Linked DNA regions of Homo sapiens: region 2 is linked to region 1. The links are contacts of gene promoters, found by promoter capture Hi-C in human tissues and cell types (Jung and others, 2019). All regions are on one chromosome and are shown on one strand. The core of a region is centred on a gene start or on the middle of the fragment in contact, and the rest is flanking DNA. Distances in the headings are between cores, read along the strand shown. Region 1 overlaps CTNND1 (catenin delta 1). Region 2 holds the start of PRG2 (proteoglycan 2, pro eosinophil major basic protein).

What was found. Contacts are between HindIII fragments. The study calls those that stand out against the background at their distance.
Region 2: a contact is called between the fragment with the promoter of PRG2 here and a fragment that was not itself captured in region 1, in 1 of the 25 tissues and cell types used here (spleen).

Annotation. Positions count from the first base shown.
Region 1 is chr11:57,801,474-57,805,111 of GRCh38, reverse strand. It overlaps CTNND1 (catenin delta 1), which reads right to left. Exons shown (of 21, transcript NM_001085458.2): 7 at 2,916-3,379; 8 at 1,308-1,491; 9 at 332-449. It overlaps TMX2-CTNND1 (TMX2-CTNND1 readthrough (NMD candidate)), which reads right to left. Exons shown (of 21, transcript NR_037646.1): 8 at 2,916-3,379; 9 at 1,308-1,491; 10 at 332-449. Among named protein-coding and RNA genes, the nearest start is that of CTNND1, 41 kb to the right of the region's middle. The HindIII fragment of the contact is 3,742 bases long and covers 1-3,591 here.
Region 2 is chr11:57,388,698-57,392,335 of GRCh38, reverse strand. It overlaps PRG2 (proteoglycan 2, pro eosinophil major basic protein), which reads left to right and starts at 1,686. Exons shown (of 6, transcript NM_002728.6): 1 at 1,686-1,740; 2 at 2,380-2,449; 3 at 3,019-3,326; 4 at 3,628-3,638. The coding sequence starts at 2,392. The HindIII fragment of the contact is 9,070 bases long and covers 1-3,638 here.

The DNA.
Region 1 (3,638 bases), core at 471-2,970:
GCCAGGCCAACATGGTGAAACCCCGTCTCTACTAAAAATACAAAAATTAGCTGGGTGTGGTGGCACACGCCTGTAATCCCATCTACTTGGGAGGCTGAGGCATGAGAATCGCTTGAACCCAGGAAGCAGAAGTTGCAGTGAGCTGAGATCACATCACTGCACCCCAGGCTGGGCAACAGAGCAAGACTCTGTCTCAAAAATAAGGGGTAGGGGACAGTATAAATATTTAATGTTACTTGAAAGCCTGAGATGATAGGTCTCTGACCTACAGATACTTCATAGTTGTGGTGAATGAAATTCACTCAGCCATTAAAGGTAAGACAGCACTTACCTTGCTGTCTGAATCCTTCTGCCCAATCTCAGCCTGAACAATGAAAATGAGGGCATCAACTAAACCATCACATTCCCGAAGTTTCCGGCGAGCTTCACTCCTCTCTGAGCTTACATTCCTGAGGGGAAACCAGAAGCTTCAAGATGACTCAAATCCAGAAATCCTCCCTTAAATATCCCTCAACACCTACAAGATTCCTGAATATGTTTTTCTACTCACTGTAATAGTAAATACCTATTATAAGCAAGGTACTGCAGTTGAGAGAAAGTTGATTAACAGTCCCTGCCTTCTGAATGTTTATATCACTGTGGGGTAGGGATTAATGATATGTACCAGATGCAGTAATTCAAGATGGAATATATACTTCTCGTATGGAAGTATATAATACATATGTAGAATGGAACACAGCACACAGAGGTGTATTCCAAAGAGAGAAAGATTATATAGCAGCATTTATAGGATATAAAAAGAATTCAGGAAAACTTTAATAAAATAAAGGCACTTGAGTTTAACCACAAAAAGATAAATAAGAAGAGAAAGGCATCACAGAAAGAACAGACCTTCCTCACCCATGCCCTAACCTCCTAGTACTCTGTACCCCTTTTGCTGAATTTATCACAGCCTGACTTGAAATACAAATAACTAGGGCAAGGACATAGACACACACAAGTCCAGGACTAGACCACCTTACATGTGGTAGATGCTGAACAAAAGCTTACCAAAGTAGATGAACAAAGTCAAAGAGGCATAAAAGTGAAGAGGATGTGTGGGGAACAGCAAGAAAACTGATATAGGTACATGTGGTATACATGAGAGAATAGCAACAAAGATAGAAAGGTTGGAGTTACAGTATGCAATACAGATAGGAATGGAGGCTAAAGAATAGGCTAAAGAATTTTAATTTTTTTTTTTTTTTAGGAAATTTAAGTCAGTCCTCAAAAATTCATCTTCATATTCTCAAAGTCCCTACTGTTACCTAAGGCAGCCAGCTGTGTTGGTGAGCACCGATTCCCACTCAATGTGGCGTGGCTTACAGTCTTCATTAGGTTCCCGCTCCCAACCAGAATGAGGAATGATCACTTCATCTGTCAAGGCATGCAGTGCATGGTCCACAATCTCCATTTTGATTGAGTCATGGGATGAAAGATTCCACAGGGTTCCTGGAAGAGACAATTCATCAGATGGCTCTTGAGCATTCAAGACAATATGTCTGAAGAACGTCAAAGAGAATCCCCCTATCGTATCACTTCTCAGTCTTCCCCAGTGACCAAATACCTTATAGTAATATTCAAGCTTTGTTTGCGACCCTCACCAAGAAACATATTCTACATTATAGCTCAAAATAAACATACAGATCATGAAACAAACAATGTTTAACTATAAGCAACGCTCAGGCTGGGTGTGGTGGCTCACGCCTGTAATCCCAGCAATTTGGGAGGCCAAGGCGGGCGGATCACAAGGTTGGGAGATCAAGACCATCCTGGCTAACACTAAAAATACAAAAAATTAGCCGGGCGTGGTGGCGGGCACCTGTAGTCCCAGCTACTTGGGAGGCTGAGGCAGGAGAATGGCGTGAACCCATGAGGCGGAGCTTGCGGTGAGCTGAGATTGTGCCACTGCACTCCAGCCTGGGTGACAGAGCGAGACTCCATCTCAAAAAAAACAAACAAAACTATAAGCAATGCTCAATGCTCTCCGATCTGTCTATACCAGAGTTTTTCAACCTCAGCACCACTGACATTTTCGGCCAGATGATTCTTTGTTATGAGGAGCTGTCTTGTCTATTGTTGGATGTTTACCAGTACCCCTGGCCTTTACTCACTAGATGCCAGTAGCACTCCCTCTCCCCTGTTCCAAGTTATAACAACCAAAAATATCTCCAACACTGCAAATGTCCAAATGTCCTCAGGGCAGGGCAGGCAAAATGGCCCACAACTGAGAAACAATGGTCTATACTACTTTTTCTTTATTCCTTTCCCTTGGAATGCTGATTATGCTCCACAAAATTTTGTTTTATTCACTAACGGATCACACAAATAGATCACAACCCACAATCTGAAAAACTACTGCTCTAAATAAAGCAAGAACCACAAGCTTAAATGTCTATATGGGTCAAGCCGGTGAGTCAAGAGAGGAAGATAATTAAAAGAAATTACAAGCATGTGAAAAAATAGCAGTTGACAGCTCCATGTTTGGGAAACAACTTCCTAAACAGCTGTAGTTGGTCAGATAATAGAATGTGTTGGAGATTAGTGTAAATTAGAGAGCACATGCTCCAATCAGTTCAGACCAAATACTGCTAAGGAAGAAAAGAGATCCATTGTTAACAACTCTTCCACGTTTTTAATAGAAGCCAAGAATCTGGAATTTTAAGTGAAATCTTCTGAATTTTAAACATCAGCAACCAGTTCTTTAAAATTTCAATAATGCTGTGTGATCCAAACAAATCTGTGAGATGGATTTGACCCACAGCCACCAGTTCACAACCTTTCATCAAAAGTAAAAGGTCTGGAAATCCCTCTAGTTCTCAACATCACTAGAGAGTAACACTGACTTAGCAATTTTCCTTAGGCCTAGAACTCACCGGTAATAACTTCAGTAAGGTCCATATCACGAGCCTTTCGAAGCAATCGCACAAGGGCAGGCACACCATCACAGTTTTTTATGGCAATCTTGTTATCCTGGTCACGTCCAAAAGAGATATTCTTGAGAGCTCCACAGGCTCCAAGGTGCACTTCCTTTTTGGGATGGTCTAACAATCCCACCAGTACTGGGATGCCCTTGAGCTTCCGCACGTCAGTCTTCACCTTGTCATTGCGGTAGCATAAGTGTTGCAGGTATGCAGCTGCATTGGACTTGACAGCATCCAAGCGGAATCCAAGCATGGCGATCACCTCTGGCAGCTCTGGCTGTCTCCAATTAGGAGGTGGAGGCCCTCCTTTGCGCAGGCTATCCAAGCTTGCTAAACTTCCTCGCTCATGCTGGGCCAAAGGAGCCCAGTAGTATTGATCCGATGGCACCTCCTCACCAATCATGTCTTCATAGCTCCTGAGAAGTTTTGGAAGAACCAAGAGAATACATCAAGTCATTATGGCTAGCTTCCTGGACATTCCCATTACCCTCATCTGCAAAGGAGGATTAACTGGAGTTTCAGTGTGCTCATCTTATCTCTCCTTTGCATGAATAATATACTGATCAATTTTCCTCAATGGGTTAGTAAAAATAAAAGGTAATAATTTTAAAAACACCTGCAATTTAATTAAAACTACATTTTTTTCTTTGAAGTCTGCAGGCTTAGAAAGTAACA
Region 2 (3,638 bases), core at 437-2,936, 410 kb after region 1:
AGTAATCTCACAAGAAAAGTAAAATGACTAACTGATAAGGACAAGCCCCTGGAGCTACAAGAGGGTGTATACAGGGCATCGATCCAATAAGGGCAGTGTTGCGGGGAGATCAGGAGCCACACAGAGCCTGGGTTGTCTCACTTGGAAAATGGGGTATCAACCACCTACCTCACTAGGTTTTTAAAATCAGGTTAAATGAGGTAATACTTGCCATGAACAGTATTTTGTTGATTGATGATTGATTGAAACGGAGTCTCACTCTCTCGCCCAAGCTGGAGTGCAGTGGTGCAATCTCAGCTCACTGCAACCTCTACTTCCTGGGTTCAAGTGATTCTCCTGCCTCAGACTCCCAAGTAGCTGGGATTACAGGCAGCCACCCCTATGCCTGACTAATTTTTGTATTTTTAGTAGAGACAAGGCTTTGCAATGTTGACCAGGCTGGTCTCAACCTCCTGACCTCAAAAGATCCACCCACCTCAGCCTCCCAAAGTGCTGGGATCACAGGCATGAGCCACTGCATCCAGCCACTTGCCATGCATGGCATTTAAAAATGTTCAGTAAATGTTACCATAATGAAGGCTGGTAGGTTGGCCAACTGAGTGGTCTGATTCAGAAGGAAAGAAGTTAGACATACGTGAACATTTCCTGTACTTGAAGATCCTCAGGACAGTGACTCCTAGACCCATCTTCCATCACAGTCAGCTGGGAAGCTTTTAAAAAAATGCAGACATCTGACCTTCACGCTAGACCTATTAGCCAAGCAGAAGTTTCTGGGCAGGGCATCTGCATATTTTTAAAAATCTTTAATAAGGCAGCCTCAAAATTACAGATTCAGCACGCATTTACCATAACCACTGAAGAAATGCAAAGTTATAAAAAGAAGATAAACAACAATCTGTCTCCTGCTTTCTTCCCTCTCCTCCCCTGCTTCTGGAGGCAACAAGGTCAACTATTTGGTGTGATTCCTTTTAGCATTCCCTCCATCAATGGTCACATAAGGATGCTCACAGATAAGCACCTATGCGGGGGTTTTTTTTTTCCTTGTAAAACTATTCACATACTAAATACTTTCCTCAGTATCTTGCCTTTTTTCACTTCATGTCACAGAAACATCTCTTCAGGTTTATAGATACAGGTCCAGCTCTTCTTTTCATAGCCATATAACATTCTGTAGAATAGAGAGGACACATTTTACTCAGTGTCCGATTGATGGATATCAATATTGTTTTCATTTCTACAAATAGTCAAGGAATAACATAACTCTGTAAAAGTTTTATTACTTATAGGCGCATTTATGCCTAAAGGATAGTCTCAAAAGAGTGAAACTGATCAAATGTGCATTTTTTTATTTTAATAGGTATGGACAGATTTGTTCTCAAAATGTTTGTGGCAGTTCAAAACACCAGTAAAACAGGGGAGATATGTATTTTGGAAAAGCACCCAAGGCGATTCTGAAGTGTAGCCCAGGATAAGAACCATTGCCCAGAGCTGTTCCAGATGGCCCCTGGGTTCCTGAAGTGGGTATCGGGAGAGAAATCTTCACTGAATGAATGAGTGGGCTCCCCAGGGAAGTGATGAAATGGTCCTTATCAGCCTTGCTATCTCCCTCTGACAGAGGCAAACTCTCTCTCCCTGGGGGAAGTTCCTCCAAGGCCTCTATATAAGAAGTCTTTGTGAGAGGAAGCAAAGAAGGACCTGGGCTTTGGGAAGATCTAAAGACCCAGGAAGGTCTCTGGGTGGGTGAGTGCTTTCTCTGCTGTGGTGGAGCTGGTGACAGTTTATTCTCCCAGGAGGTCCCTGGCTGTGGCTGACAGTTTCTGGAGGGCTGGCAGGCGTCTACCTGTGGCTTTCAGGTTATGAGGATGTCAGCAGGGGCAGCCTTCATCCTCTGCCTTGCACATTCCTTCTGCGGGATGTGAAAGTGCTCCTTGGCTGGGGAAAGGAGATGGTGGAGACATGGAGGAGGGTGTGGGTGGCTTCTTGAACTCTGAGGAGGGGACATACCTTCTAAGTCCTATGTGTTCCTAGGAAAGCCAATAATCATTGCTTCTCCCGCCTTTTTTATGTCATAGACTCTGAGGGACCCATTAAGTACAAACAAATAAGCGTAATAGTCCCTTCTTTACTTCCGGGCCTGAAGGAAAGCCAGCCTCAGCCACCCCTCAGGGTTTGCTGCGTTCTGTTTAGAAAGAGGTCCTTGCGTCCTGGATCCTGGAGCATCAGGAGCTGGGCTTGGCATGAGCTTTTCTGGCCCATCCTGATTTCTATTCAGGCCTTCTTTTTCTCCACCTCACTCCCACGGTCCCCTAATGGTGTGATTGTGATGTGTGTGCATGTGTGTCTGTGTGTGTCAATGACAAACTGTGTTCTCCGTTGCAGGATAAAGCCAAGATGAAACTCCCCTTACTTCTGGCTCTTCTATTTGGGGCAGTTTCTGCTCTTCATCTAAGTAAGTGTTTTTTGCCTTCAGTCTTTCTTTCTCTGTTTTTTCCCTTTCTATGGTAGATGGGGTCAGAGTTACACACCCACCCCCTTCTTTGATCGTCTTCTATTTCTGAATTTCTGTGTGCTTAAAGGGATGGGGACTCTATGGCCAGGAGTTGAAAGGATTTCTCAAGGCGTCTGTTATGTCTGTGGTCTTGGTTCTACTGTGACATTCCCAATTTTGTCCTTTCTCCATTATGCTTACTTTGAGCTTACTGAGTGCCTTCTCTCCTTTAACTCTCTTAGCATCGCCATGAAGTAGGTGGTATTGTATACCCATTTCACAGAAATACAGCTGGTGGATGATGGAACCAGTACCCAAGCCCATGACTGCCCGACTCTAAGTCCATGCTCTTAACCACCTTGACCTTGTCAGGCAGCTTGGGTTCCCCTCATAGAGACTGGGTTCCAGGTTCCCCTTCCCAGGCAGAGTTGAGCACTCTGATGCCCAGGGCAAGGTGTGAGCTGTCTGTGGTTCTGGGGAGGAACAAGGGGAGATGTGAAGGAAGGACACTTAGCTATCCTCCCTGCCAGGGTCTGAGACTTCCACCTTTGAGACCCCTTTGGGTGCTAAGACGCTGCCTGAGGATGAGGAGACACCAGAGCAGGAGATGGAGGAGACCCCTTGCAGGGAGCTGGAGGAAGAGGAGGAGTGGGGCTCTGGAAGTGAAGATGCCTCCAAGAAAGATGGGGCTGTTGAGTCTATCTCAGTGCCAGATATGGTGGACAAAAACCTTACGTGTCCTGAGGAAGAGGACACAGTAAAAGTGGTGGGCATCCCTGGGTGCCAGACCTGCCGCTACCTCCTGGTGAGAAGTCTTCAGACGTTTAGTCAAGCTTGGGTGAGTGGCCTATGGCTGAGGCTGAGGTGGGAGCATGGAACGGGTGTGGGATATGCCCCCAGCATTGCTATCACTGGCTCTTTTTCCCATTGAGGGCCCTGGGGGTGTCAGTAGAACCTGAGCCTCAGAGAGGTGTTGGGGTAAGAGGGGAGGGCCACCTACAAACAGAAGTTGCATTTTGGTCTCCAACCTTCAAATGGTTGTGGCAGGGGAGGGAGGGAATGAATTGTGGGGACTCAAGACCCATGTGAATTCATGTAGGAAGGATGCTCCATTCTTTGTCTTTTATCCTGCCCTGTAGTTTACTTGCCG